Regions from separate parts of the Homo sapiens genome. Here regions 1 and 2 are each linked to region 3. The links are contacts of gene promoters, found by promoter capture Hi-C in blood cells and fetal thymus (Javierre and others, 2016). All regions are on one chromosome and are shown on one strand. Each heading gives the region's core, a stretch centred on a gene start or on the middle of the fragment in contact. The rest is flanking DNA. Distances are from core to core; before and after follow the strand shown.

Region 1 (4,273 bases), core at 185-2,684, 380 kb before region 3:
TAACAGGAGAAAAGGTACAGACATTTATCACATGCATGGGGGCATCCCAGGAAAGAAAAGGAATTCCCCACACCCAGTAAGATTTAGAAGCTTGTATACCCTCTTCACAAGGGAGAGAGGGGTGGGGTGTCAGCACCGTAGTGGAGAGTAAATGATTTCTGGGGAAGAGGAGTGGGCCCTCAGCAGGACAGGTGACGACAGCCTGTGACAAAGGCTATCTGGACGTAGTGTGGACCTTTAGACTCCTGTGAAACGAGCCAGTCCTTCCGGCTGATGAGATTCCCTGGGCGGAGATTCATGGCCACTGCGTTTGCTCTGGACAATCTGTCTTTAGACAGAAAAGGAAAACTCGGAAAGCCCCTCCCTGCAGTTGCTGTTCCCCAAGTGACCTCAGTTCAAAGTCTCAAAGTGGCATATTTTGGGGAGTTACTTCGGAACTCCTTCACAAGCAAATCATTTAAAATTGAGACATTCTGTGAAAGAACCCATGAAAGTGATTCCAGGAGAACTTTCCTCAGCAGGTGGTCAGGGAAGGCCTCTCTGAGGAGGGGTGCTTTGAGGAGCTGCAGTAACAAACAAACACAGACCAGCAGCTTCATAACACAGCTGTGAAGCTAACCACTCTGGAGGGCAGGAGCTTGATATGGGTCTCACTGGGTTGGAATCACGGTGCTGGCAGGCTTGCATTCCTTTCTGGAGACTCCAGAAGAAACATTTTTTGTCTTTTCTAGTGCCTAGAAGCCACCTGCATTTCTTGGCTCATGGCCCCTTCCTCCATCTTCAAAGCCAGCAATGTTGGGTCTCCATGACAATTCTTCCTTCCTTACATCTCCCTCTAACTCTTTTATGCTTTCATCTTCCACTTTTAAGGACCCGGTGACAACACTGGGCCCACTTGGATAATCCAGGTTACTCTCCCTATCCTAAGGTCAGCTGATCGGCAACTCTAATTCCATTTGAGACCTTAATTCCCCTTTGCTCAGTTATGTTATATATTCGCATGCTCTGGGGATCAGGATGCAGACCTAATCCCATTAGGGGGCCAAGAGTCTGCTAATCACAGGTGCAATTTTGTTTCCTTTTCGTTATCGAACTTAACAGCCTGAAATGATATTTCCTGACTATTGTTTACTTGTCACCTGTCTCACTCTTCTGGAAAGCGAATCCCAAGAGGGCAGGGATCTTGCAGGTGCTGCTCATTCACCCCTGTAATCCCAGCACTTTGGGAGGCTGAGGCGGGCGGATCATGAGGTCAGGAGATTGAGACCATCCTGGCTAATACAGTGAAACCCCATCTCTACTAAAAATACAAAAAATTAGCCGGGCTTGGTGGTGGGCACCTGTAGTCCCAGCTACTCGGGAGGCTGAGGCAGGAGAATGGCATGAACCCTGCAGGTGGAACTTGCAGTGAGCTGAGATTGCGCCACTGCACTCCAGCCTGGGCGACAGAGCGAGACTCCGTCTCAAACAACAACAACAACAACAACAACAACAACAACAACAACAACAACAACAACAACAAAAACAGTGCCTGGAACTCAGCAGGTGCTCAACAAAGACTTACTGAATCAATGGACAGGTGATTGAGCTTGAGCTCATTTCTGCATCAGAGTCAACACAGACAGTACTGGTCTGAGTGCCGGGAGCTGTGACCCCCACCGCACCCTGTGAAGTTGTGTGACCTGGAGCCTTCCTTTCCCCTCTCTGAGTCTCAGGCATTCTCACCCCAGCCCTAGGAGGAAGGGAAGGCACAGGGCAGCCACCCTGACGTCTTCAGATCTTGAAGGAGTTAATTGCTGTCATGAAGTCATCGCTTATTTCCTCCCAATAGCAAAAGCCCTGCTGAGGCAGCAGTAGCCTGAGCAGGTATCCGAGGATCACTCTCCCCAGAGTACACTCAGGGAGCAATCAGTGGGGTCTGGCATTGGTGCTGGTTCCTGGGCATGCCACCCCCTGCCCCACCACCCCCTGCTCTACTCACCAGCCCATGGCAGGTGGAGAACATGGGCCCTGGGTGAGACAGGCCTGCTTGTATGTCCTAACTCTGTTTGTGACCAGTGGGGTCACCTTGATGAGTAATTTCCCCTTCCCAAGCCTTCATTTTCTCTTCTATTAAGTAGGATAATCCGTTTATTACAGGGTGGTCAAGAGAATAAAGTAAGAGAGTACATTGGAAGGGCCTGGCCCATAGTAGATGCTCAGTAAATGCTGCCTGTTATCATCATTACTTCTTACTGGTGTAATATCACCTGTGAATCAGAATTTCCTGGTGAAAGAGACCAGAATGCCTTCTCTTCTGTCTCAGAGGGCAACACTGACAGAGTGGGTATCAGTGTCAAGTCTAGATACACGGCTTGGCAGGAGGTCTTGAAAGTACAATAATTGGTAATTCATCCTTTCCCTGGGGTGTTGGTGCCAAAGGCAGCCGTGGTGGCAGGGAGGAGGTGGGAAGCACCAACAGCCCTTTCATTGCCAATGAACTTGGACTCTGCCTCTGCTGCCAGCCAAGCTGTATATATACTTAGGGAAGTTATTGTAACACAAAAGTGTTGCAGGGAACTGACAACTCTCTGGCCCAGTGGTGCGGGGGTAAAATAGTTTACCAAGACAGTTGTAGGTAAAGAAAGGCAGGTTTATTGGAGAAAGTAGAAAAATACATTGCAAGGAGGGCAGCCTGCATGACAGAAGCCGACTGCAAAGAAACAAAGGCCGGCTGGAGATTTTATAGGACGGTGCAGATGCTGTGTGCTGAAGAGGGCTGTGCGCAGCACCACGACACCAAGCTTGCAGTGAGCTCACCTGCAGATGTCTGGTGACAGCTGGGCGCAGGAAGATGGTGACTTATTTGTGCAGGAGGGCTGTGTCCTGGACCATGAAGAAAGGCAGACTTGTAGCTCATCTGCTTTCTCCTTTTGCTTTCCCCTGGTCCCAACAGCCTGACTCCCTTTCCCTAATTAGGACTCCACAGAAAGCTTATTTCTCTTATTTAGTTATAAAAATAATACAGTCCCATCATGAAAACTTTGGAAGAAAACAAAAGTGTAAAGGAAACAAATCAGGCAAGTACAGTCTCCCTTGGGGCTGGCTGTTAGTGCCTTGGGCTATTTCCTTTCCCCGGTTGTGTTGTGTGGCTCTTCCCAAACATCCAGCTCGGTATCCTCCTCTCTTCACTTGTTGTTACAGTTGGGGCATCTCCCTGGGTCGTTAAAAACTTGTAAATGTGATTTCTTAATGACTGCAGATGATCACATGTCGCAAAGCACCATCTTCACCTCCCCTCCTCAACTCCTGGGCGCTTAGTTTCTGGGTGTGTGTGTATTAAAAGTACACCACAATGAATCTTTACAGGCATATCTTGTGACTTTGTGCACCTGTTTCCTTCTTTCTAAAAATGGCCCCTAAATCTATAAAAATTTTAAAATGGGACCAATAATTCCAGTCTTCCCACTCCACAAGGTTTTATGAGGCTTAAAGGAGGAAACAGATATCAAGGTGCTTTGAAAACCATGGAGAAAAGAGCCACCCAAATGCAAGGCCAGATTTTGAGCACTACCTGTTTAAGATAGGAGTGTGTGTGTGTGTGTGTGTGTGTGTGTGTGTGTGTGTGTGTGTTCCTCAACAGTTGGGAGATAGATGAGGGTGGAACTAGGAATAACAGCCACCACAGCATTCAACATTTATAGAGCACCTGCTGGGCACTCTATTAAACAAGACACATTCATGATCTGAATTCGTTCTAACTACCACATCGAGGGGGAGTACTATTATTACCTAGAACCTACAAATGGGGAAACTGAGGCCCAGAGCAGTTAAGCAATTTGCTCGTGGAGACCCAGCTTTCAAGTGGGAAGTTGAGGAGGGACACACATACACCCTTTCCCTGACAGCTGCAGGCATCAGCGATGAGGGCCCCAGAGCACTGCAATAGTGGATTCCCTGGGGCTTCAGAGCACCCAAGACCCCCAGCATTTCCTGAAATGATGTACTGTTCTTTACTGAGCACAGTCTGGTGTTCCTGGCAGGCAGACAAACTAATCTGAAGATTATTTCCCCAGAGCTGGGGTATGAGAATGCTTCATTCAAAGGGAAAAGCCCAGAGGAGAAAAACCCACCCCCGGCACGTCTGAGACAAAATGGCAGAGCGGACTCACTGTATGTGTATGTGAGTGTGTGTGCCTGAGGGTGTGTACCAAGTGTGGGTACCCTGAGACAGGTGTGTGTGCATGTGTATGCGTGTGAATGCACAGGAGTACACAGATGTGAGTGGCTGTAT
Region 2 (4,109 bases), core at 845-3,344, 420 kb before region 3:
CTCTGATAGAATGAACACACCCTTTCAGGCCATTCATCAAATTTAGCCATAGTGCTTCTATTTTTTTCCCCTTTTGTTTCAGTCAAGGCAACTTTCTCTTAATGAAGGTGAATGCAAAGCGATGAGTGTCTTGGTAAACAACAGGGTCAGAGGACAGGACTCTTTCAGGGCCACAAAAAACCTGGGTGGTGTTGGGTTTGGAGAAATGTTTTACAGAACGAAAGCCAAGTGTCCAAACCTCCAGGGGGCTATGCTGCCGCCTCCTGCCCTGCAGAAGCTCCACCTGCAGCCTCTAGAGCAGCAGCAACAGGACCACGTGCCATTCCCTGAGCACCCACTGAGTGCTGGGCACCTCGCCCCAGCCTGCTGTGGAAGGTAAATCATCATGCTGCTTGACAGCTGAGGAAACTGAGGCTCAGAGGGGTTAAATGAGATGCCCCGACAGGGGCTCCAGGTGGGATGTGAGCACTGTTGTGTTTCCACCTTCAGAAGCGCCGGCAGTGGGGTTTGCTGTTTGAGAGGCCAGGCTCTTAGGGCAGCCTGGGTCAAATGTTAACTCCACCCTTACTAGCTGGGTGACCCTGAGCCTCTTGCTTAACCTCTCCACGTCTCTGGATTTCTGGGTGATAAAACTCTCCATGTCCAAGAGCTGTTTGAAGACTAAATGAGCGAATTGGTGCAGAAGCGGCAGTGCATGCGAGCTGTGCTCAGGAACATTTTCCATTTAGCAGCCCCTTTAAGGGTGGCATTACGGTCACAGCCTGGGGAGCTGGACTTGTGCAGGGCAGCCTCTGGAAGCTTGTGGTTGTGTCCTCTATCCTGGGCGAGGGCACTGGCCACTGCTGATTGGGGTGGAGGACGGCGTGCCCACACTCTGTTGGTGTCTATGAACTGGCTGGTGTCTGAGGCCCATGGAAGGTGCTTTTCTTGAACCCACTGCTGCCGCAGGACCTGTGGCCTTGCTGTGTAATGCAAGGGCTTAAAACGTGGCTCCCATCCAGACATCTGGGTTGAACTCACCTCTCTGGCATCAATGCATGCCCAGTGGGTCAAATGTTGAAGTTTCTGGAATGTTCCAAACAGTGTTAGAGGGATTGCTTCTGTGTGTTAAAATATCTTCTTGCAAAAACCCTGATAGAGGCCAGGGTACCCACCTTGGTGCCCTTGATAGGGGCAGATTTAAAAAAATGCCAAGTCCAAGGGAAGTTCAGGCCCTGCCTAAGAAGAACAGAAACAACAATGTCTGTGTTTTGACTCCTGGCCCAGTGGTCTATCTGTCACACCCTCGACCCTTTCAGTGTTCTTCCATTCTCTCTGCCCACCCCACAGCTGGAGAGAACGCTGTCTCTCCTCCTGGGGGGCCATTACAATGAAATGTCCAGCACTCTCCCTTCCATTGAGTAACAGCCATGCCATTGGGAGACAGATCTGTGGCTCCAAGGGTGGGCTCTGGTTGGCCTTAACCAACCACGTGATCCCTTCCATCCCCTGCCAGTGTGGGTTTAGGATTCTAGGCAAAGCCTATGCCCCTGACATTCCCCAGGGGACAAAGGTGAGTTCACCTAAAAGCAAAGTCCAGACCTTGCCTAAGAGGAATAGAAGCAACAACGCTGTGTTTTGACTCCTGGCCCAGGGGTCATGTGCCCAGTCACCTCTGCTTCAACTTTCACACATACTACCAACTATTTTTTGCCTGCCTATTAGTCTCTGCAACTGACAGGGACGGCCTCAAGGGCAGGGGCTGTGTCTCCTCACCCTTGGCTCCAGCTCCACATAGGCCCTGGCATAGGGCAGCAGGTGCCTGCCTGATCAACAGCCTTCTGTGGGAGGTTGGGGTGGGGCTGAGGAAGATGCTGTGGACAGAGCTATGGACCAGGAAGGGTGGGATGGGCTGGGTTGTTTGGAGTCAAGCAGAATGGGGTCAAAATCCTACCCAATAAAAATGAGAAATAAAAATAAAACTTTAAACAAACCCCACCCCTCCACTCTGGCAAGTGACTGAACGGACCCCCTCTTGGCCAAGGAGACCCCAGAGAAATCTTGAAAACCGGGTTTCTGGCCATGACGGGATGGGAGGTCGCACGTGCCCCGTAGTGTGCCATCCCTTGATAACCTCCGTTATCCTAATTCCCTAAGAGCTAAACAGAAACAGGCCTTTTCAAAAGACTCCATGCTGATTTCAACCAACTGCCCCTCCCTTTTGTGGTTTTAACACAAAAACCAACCAGCATTCTTTCTTGATAAGAGATCACCAATCATGGAGCGGTTCTAGCCAGTCTGCAGAGGATGCACAGTGAGGGTTTTCGTGCTCCCTGCTTCACCTTTGACATCAGAGGGCTGAAAACTCCACCCTCAGATCACACTAAGGCCAACATTTTTTTGTACCTGGGGCCTGTAAGAGGCATGAAGCTCAACTGTGCATGTAGATGTTTCTCCTTTCATAAATATTCATGACCCCTCCCACAGCTTATTGAATATGTATATTTGGCCATGCTGCTCAGCATAAATTTCTACTCCCTTTGCCTCTTCCTCAAAGTGTCAGTTTCTGGATTCTGGCCAGAGGCCATGCTTCCCAGCCTCTCGGAATGGCCACCCTGCAGGCTGCAACCCTTTATGAGAAATAAAGCTCCTCTTTCCAAATTAACAACAATAGCAGTACCCTGCTCTTTCCCCCACTAGCTGCATGACCCTGGCTAAGAAATTACTTCTTCCTTGAGTTTCTCAACCTTGATGGAACAGGTCATCACTGGTTGTCTGAGGATCAGAGTCCCATGTTTATCGGGGAGCCTCTGGGCTTGGGGTAGCACACTGAGCACTTCACAGGCATCATCTTGTTGAACTTCCCACGAAGCAGGTACCAGCCCCCCTTTATAAACAAGAACCTGAGGTCCAGAGGGGTTCAGGTCATCGCCACGGTAGGTGGGTGGTGGATCTGGGACACGGCAGCCTGTCTATGCCACTGGGATGGCAGTACCGGGTCGTTGTGGTTGGAGAGCAGTGAGCACGTAGGACAATCCCGAGAGCTGGTGAGTAAATGCAGGCCCCTCTTTGCCCCTAAGAGGCTGATCCAGGAGGTCTGATGGGCCATGAGAAAGTGACTGTTTCACAAGCTCCCTCCTACTCCCCACCCCAGGATGCTGACGCAGGGGTCCGCAGAGCACATTTCCAGAAACAGTTCTCAGGCAATGCTGTCTACAAACCCCCAGCTGAGAGCTCAGGCTTAGAAGGTGAGGGATAATAACATGAATAGAATTCTAATAATAATGGAGCAAAGCCTCTACACAGTGCCAGGCAGTGTTCCAAACACTTTCACTCATTTAATTTTCACAATGATTTTCCAAGGTAGTGATTATTATTGGCCCTATTTTACAGGTGAGGAAATAAGGTACAGAAAGCTTAAATAACTTGCCTATTGCCCTACAACTGGTAACAGCTGGTTAGCTAACTTTATAATAATAATTTTAAGATCTTTCCCCTGTATCCACCTGCATCAGACACTCTCCTGGGGTATGGGGAAGGGGTACCCAGGGAGCTTTTATTCAGGGAAGTAGAGATGTGTGTGGTTAAGACCAGGGAGCCAGAGAGATTTGGCTGCCCCCGAGTCTGTCCTAGAGATGGAGAGATAGGACACTGGTTCTTCCCTGAGCCCTTGCCTGCTTTCTAGATGCAAGTCTTGGCTGTGAGTTCCAGGGGGAGGGCTGGTGGGCACTGCCGGCTGAAGCTGCAGGGTAGGTGGGTCGGGGCTCCCACTTGCTAGGTCCAGTCTCCCTTCCCATGACCAGGGCCCCAACAGGACACTTAGAGGTTCCTACCTTCTTCCCCTGGGCTGCTCCCATGGCACGAAGTGGGCACCAGGCCTGGGTGGGCTGCAGGGGCCAGGCTGGGGTCCTCCCTGCTGGCGTTGATCTCAGGAGCCAGGACCCAAGGGGCTCCCGGGGCGAGGGCCCCCTGTCCTCTTGCGGCTCATTCTCCCAGGCACAAAGGCGGCTTTCACAGCTGCTCCTAAGCCCGGAGCGCCTCAGACAGGCTTAGGGCGATTGATCCTGACAGAGGGGCCAGTGTCCCCAGGCGGCTTCTATGCCCTTCTTGGGTCCCTGCAGCTCCTCACC
Region 3 (4,321 bases), core at 989-3,488:
CTAAACATTAAACCTTGAGCATAATACTCAGCTCACAGCAGGGGCTCAACAGCACCATCAAAGTTTATTCAAAAAATGGGAAGGGAAATTAAACAGTTTAGTACTGGTCAATAAAAAGGCCTGGGAGGGATTTGGAAATTCCTATTTTGAGCATTCCTACAAGATATTTTTACGTATGTAATACAAATTAATGTGAAGATCTATAAAATCTGTATAAGAGAAATAAAATATTGTGTCTACAGACAGCCTACTGGTTCCCCATTGTAAACATGAGAACATGGAAGGACACACTTATGTAAGCACACTGAAGATATTACTGAATGTCCATAAGCTTTAATTATTTAAGAAAGGGGAATTAAATAAGATAATTATCTCTAAGGAAGAATTTATTGCAAAAAATGAGAATCCTATATGAGGATTAAATACGGTTTGAATTATAAACAATATGTGAGCAAATCTAATTTCTGTAAGGAATTTCCAGCTTTTAATTTTTCTCAGTAATATAAAGATATTTTTGCCTCTCAGTTATAACACACGATCACTTGGAGGTAAGACATTTAATGTCTTCTTCCTTAGGCAGTATTACGTGCAAACTGTATATGGGATAGAATTACTATAGCTTGTGAGGGCAGGTAATATTTCACTATGAATTTAAATTTGAGACAGCTAGTTGTTTTAAAAGACAAAAGCCCTCATACTCGGTGAGACGGCAAACTCTCCCTGCTGCTTTTTGCTTTCCCATGTCCTCCAAGTTTCCTGTAGTGGGCACATGTTTTTTTGATAATATATTTTACCTATAAGAAGTGAGACAAACTCTCTAAAAGTGTTCTAGCCCAATTAGTGATAACGAATGGGACAGAAGAAAGAGAACTGCAGACTACTCCGAGAGCACTCATAATGAGGCAAGTAGTGTTAGGTGAATGAAAAGGCAGAAGCAATAAAGAGGTGGAGACGGGTAGAGAACTGATTAGATACAGTAACAAACGTTCATCAGAACAGCAGGACTAGCATGGTAAACAGACTGTAAACAAGGAGTGTAACCTCTTGCAAAGGCGAGGAGAGGAGACCAGGAAGGGAGGTGTCCAGTGAGGTGAGGAAAGCAGGTCGAGACACTCTAGGATACTCAAAGTGACTGAGGACGACCCAGAAGCAGTGTTTCTCCAAGTGTGATCCTTGGACCCCCTGCATAGGAATCACTTGGGGGAACTAGTTAAAAAGCTTAATCAAGTGACCCCCATCCAGAGATTCGGATTCACCAGATCTGGGATGCGGGTCAGGAAATCTGCACGTTTACAAGCACCCCAAGAAAGCCTGATGTACTCCAACGTCTGAGATTCACTGACTCCCAGTTCTGTAAAAATAAAACAGCACATAGCCAAAGTGCTTATTTTCTTTCTTGATGTAACAATGCATGCATTCACTCATTCACTCTTCTAAATCGCTTCTGAGATACCAGTGTTGCATGAATACTGAGTCTCCAAAGCGCTTTGTTAAAACTCAAGATTTCTGGGCCCTGCCCTCAAGATTCTGATTCAGGAGGTTTCAGTGGGGCTTAAGATCTCCATTTTAGGTAGAATCACAGACAATTAATTCATCTTAAGAAACACTGAGTTGGAGAGTGAACAAAAGCCAAATCATACGCCTAGACATTGGTAAATTTTTCCTTCTCTCTGGGTCAACAGCATTCACCCATTAATTCTGTCTTACCCCTGAAAAAGACCTTATTATGGGGATAGAGGGTGCACTTTATCCTCACCCCGATCACGGACTACCTCACCCAAGAGGAGAAAGGTATAGACAGGTTGGAGAACCGTTTCGGGTTACCTGGTACTCATTTTTGAACATTCCCGCAGGGGGCCCAGGGCTTGGGGGGCACAGAGTTCAGGGTTTCCAGCGAGTGGCGTGACCCTGACGGCTGGAAATCGGCTGGCGGGAACCCAGGAGCCCGACGGGTGGGAAAGGGCTTCGTGCTTGGCCCAGACTTGGGCAGGCTCTTCTCAGCCCCTCCGGCCCCTGGTCAGCTCCATCTCCCGCCCTCCATCAGCACCATTGCGGCTCCAGCCTCCGCGGTGCCCGGGTCTGGGGAGGGCGCAGCTGCCTGGACGGACTCCGGGCCGTCCCTGGGGAGTGATTGTGTGTGTAACCTACGTGACGGGGCGCCCAGTCGCGGAGCCACAGACAACCGCCCGCTGGCCTAGGAAAAGCGGGCGCGCTCCCGCTGCCGCCCCACCCCAGAATCAAACCGCGAAAGAGCAGCGCCGAGCGCCACCCGCGTTCCGGCCGCGCCCATTGGTTCCCACTGGGCGCCTGCGCGTTGCGCTCTCTAGGCTTCTCGCCGACGGGCACGGGAGGATACGCGGTGACGTAGCGTTGCCCAGGCAACCGCGGGACTCCTGGAGAAATGGTGGGCGGTCCAAACGGTGAGCAGCACGCTCCTTACTTAGGTCATGACCTCTGCCGACTAAAAAGGCTAAACTCAGCGTGGATTAGGGCTATACCAGGTACTGGACTCTTCTAGAGTACTGTCACATCGGTTTGGTCTCTCCTCGTGGTAAACAGATAACTGGTAGGTTCCTGAGGGATACAGTCATGGACTCATGGAACCCTCACGCGGCCTTTGCTTAGAAGGTTCCCAAATTTGGGTTCGTTGAGGCAGTAAGAGGGTCTGCTGGACCCTTTCATTGTTTCAGAAGACCCTAGGAAGCCAAGATTTTTTTGTAGAAAATAATAACTTATTGAGACTAGCACTGGCTTAAGTGTAACTATTAAGTTACTTTATTTAGTTTCTAGATCAGAGCCACTTCTTACATGGAAGGTACTATTGCCAATTTTTGGCTAAGGAACTGTGGCTCAGAAAGGTTAAATGGCTTGGCCAAAGTCATATGGCACTGAGAGGTGACAGCATGCTGGCAGTCCTCAGAGCCCTCGCTTGCTCTCGGCACCTCCCCTGCCTGGGCTCCCACTTTGGCGGCATTTGAGGAGCCCTTCAGCCCCCCACTGCACTGTGGGAGCCCCTTTCTGGGTTGGCCAAGGCTGGAGCCCACTCCCTCAGCTTGCAGGGAGGTGTGGAGGGAGAGGCGCGAGCGGGAACCCGGGCTACGTGCCGCGCTTGCAGGCCAGCTGGAGTTCCGGGTGGGCGTGGACTTGGCAGGCCCCGCACTCGGAGCAGCCGGCCAGCCCTGCTGGCCCCGGGCAATGAGGGACTTAGCACCCGGGCCAGTGGCTGCAGAGGGTCTACTGGGTCCCCCAGCGTGCTGGCCCACCGGCACTGTGCTCGATTTCTCGCCAGGCCTTAGCTGCCTTCCCGCGGGGCAGGGCTCAGAACCTGCAGCCCGCCATGCCTGAGCCTCCCACCCACTCCGTGTGTTCCTGTGCAGCCCGAGCCTCCCCGATGAGCGCCGCCCCCTGCTCCACGGCGCCCAGTCCCATCGACCACCCAACGGCTGAGTAGTGTGAGCGCACGGTGCGGGACTGGCAGGCAGCTCCACCTGCGGCCCCAGTGCGGGATCCACTAGGTGAAGCCAGCTGGGCTCCTGAGTCTGGTGGGGAGGTGGAGAGTCTTTACGTCTAGCTCAGGGATTGTAAATAACCAATCAGCACCCTGTGTTTAGCTCAAGGTTTGTGAGTACACCAATTGACACTCTGTGTCTAGCTGCTCTGGTGGGGCCTTGGAGAACCTGTGTGTCCAAACTCTGTATCCAGCTAATCTGATGGGGACGTGGAGAACCTTCGTGTCTAGCTCAGGGATTGTAAACGCACCAATCAGCGCCCTGACAAAACAGGCCACTGGGCTCTACCAATCAGCAGGATGTGGGTGGGGCCAGATAAGAGAATAAAAGCAGGCTGCCCGAGCCAGCATTGGCAACTAGCTGGGGGTCCACTTCCACACTGTGGAAGCTTTGTTCTTTCACTCTTTGCAATAAATCTTGCTACTGCTCACTCTTTGGGTCCACACTGCTTTTATGAGCTGTAACACTCACCGCGAAGATCTGCAGCTTCTCTCCTGAAGCCAGCGAGACCACGAGCCCACCAGGAGGAACAAACAACTCCAGACGTGCTGCCTTAAGAGCTGTAACACTCACCGCGAAGGTCTGCAGTTTCACTCCTGAGCCGGTGAGACCACGAACCCACCAGAAGGAAGAAACTCCGAACACATCCGAACATCAGAAGGAACAAACTCCAGACGCGCCACCTTAAGAGCTGTAACACTCACCGCGAGGGTCCGCGGCTTCATTCGTGAAGTCAGTGAGACCAAGAACCCACCGATTCCGGACACAGCACCAGTTAGGAACTCTTATCTGATGCTGCACTCATGGTTGAG

Evidence for each region. Contacts are between HindIII fragments. The CHiCAGO score rates a contact against its expected background, and 5 or more counts as called.
Region 1: a fragment that was not itself captured here is called in contact with the fragment with the promoter of CFAP20DC in region 3 in 1 of 17 cell types (endothelial precursors); the score reaches 5.3 in endothelial precursors.
Region 2: a contact is called between a fragment that was not itself captured here and the fragment with the promoter of CFAP20DC in region 3, in 4 of 17 cell types (monocytes, M0 macrophages, M1 macrophages and 1 more). The highest score is 6.3, in monocytes.

What each region holds. Positions count from the first base shown.
Region 1 is chr3:58,668,227-58,672,499 of GRCh38, forward strand. All of the region lies in intron 2 of LOC105377109 (a long non-coding RNA gene), which reads left to right. Among named protein-coding and RNA genes, the nearest start is that of FAM3D, 3.6 kb to the left of the region's middle. The HindIII fragment of the contact is 2,693 bases long and covers 89-2,781 here.
Region 2 is chr3:58,623,159-58,627,267 of GRCh38, forward strand. The region is part of intron 2 of FAM3D-AS1 (FAM3D antisense RNA 1); the gene reads left to right. It also overlaps a transcript of FAM107A not described here. Among named protein-coding and RNA genes, the nearest start is that of FAM3D-AS1, 18 kb to the left of the region's middle. The HindIII fragment of the contact is 2,597 bases long and covers 797-3,393 here.
Region 3 is chr3:59,047,787-59,052,107 of GRCh38, forward strand. CFAP20DC (CFAP20 domain containing) reads right to left here and starts at 2,239. Exons shown (of 17, transcript NM_001394063.1): 1 at 1,825-2,239. The coding sequence starts at 1,845. The HindIII fragment of the contact is 2,679 bases long and covers 1,217-3,895 here.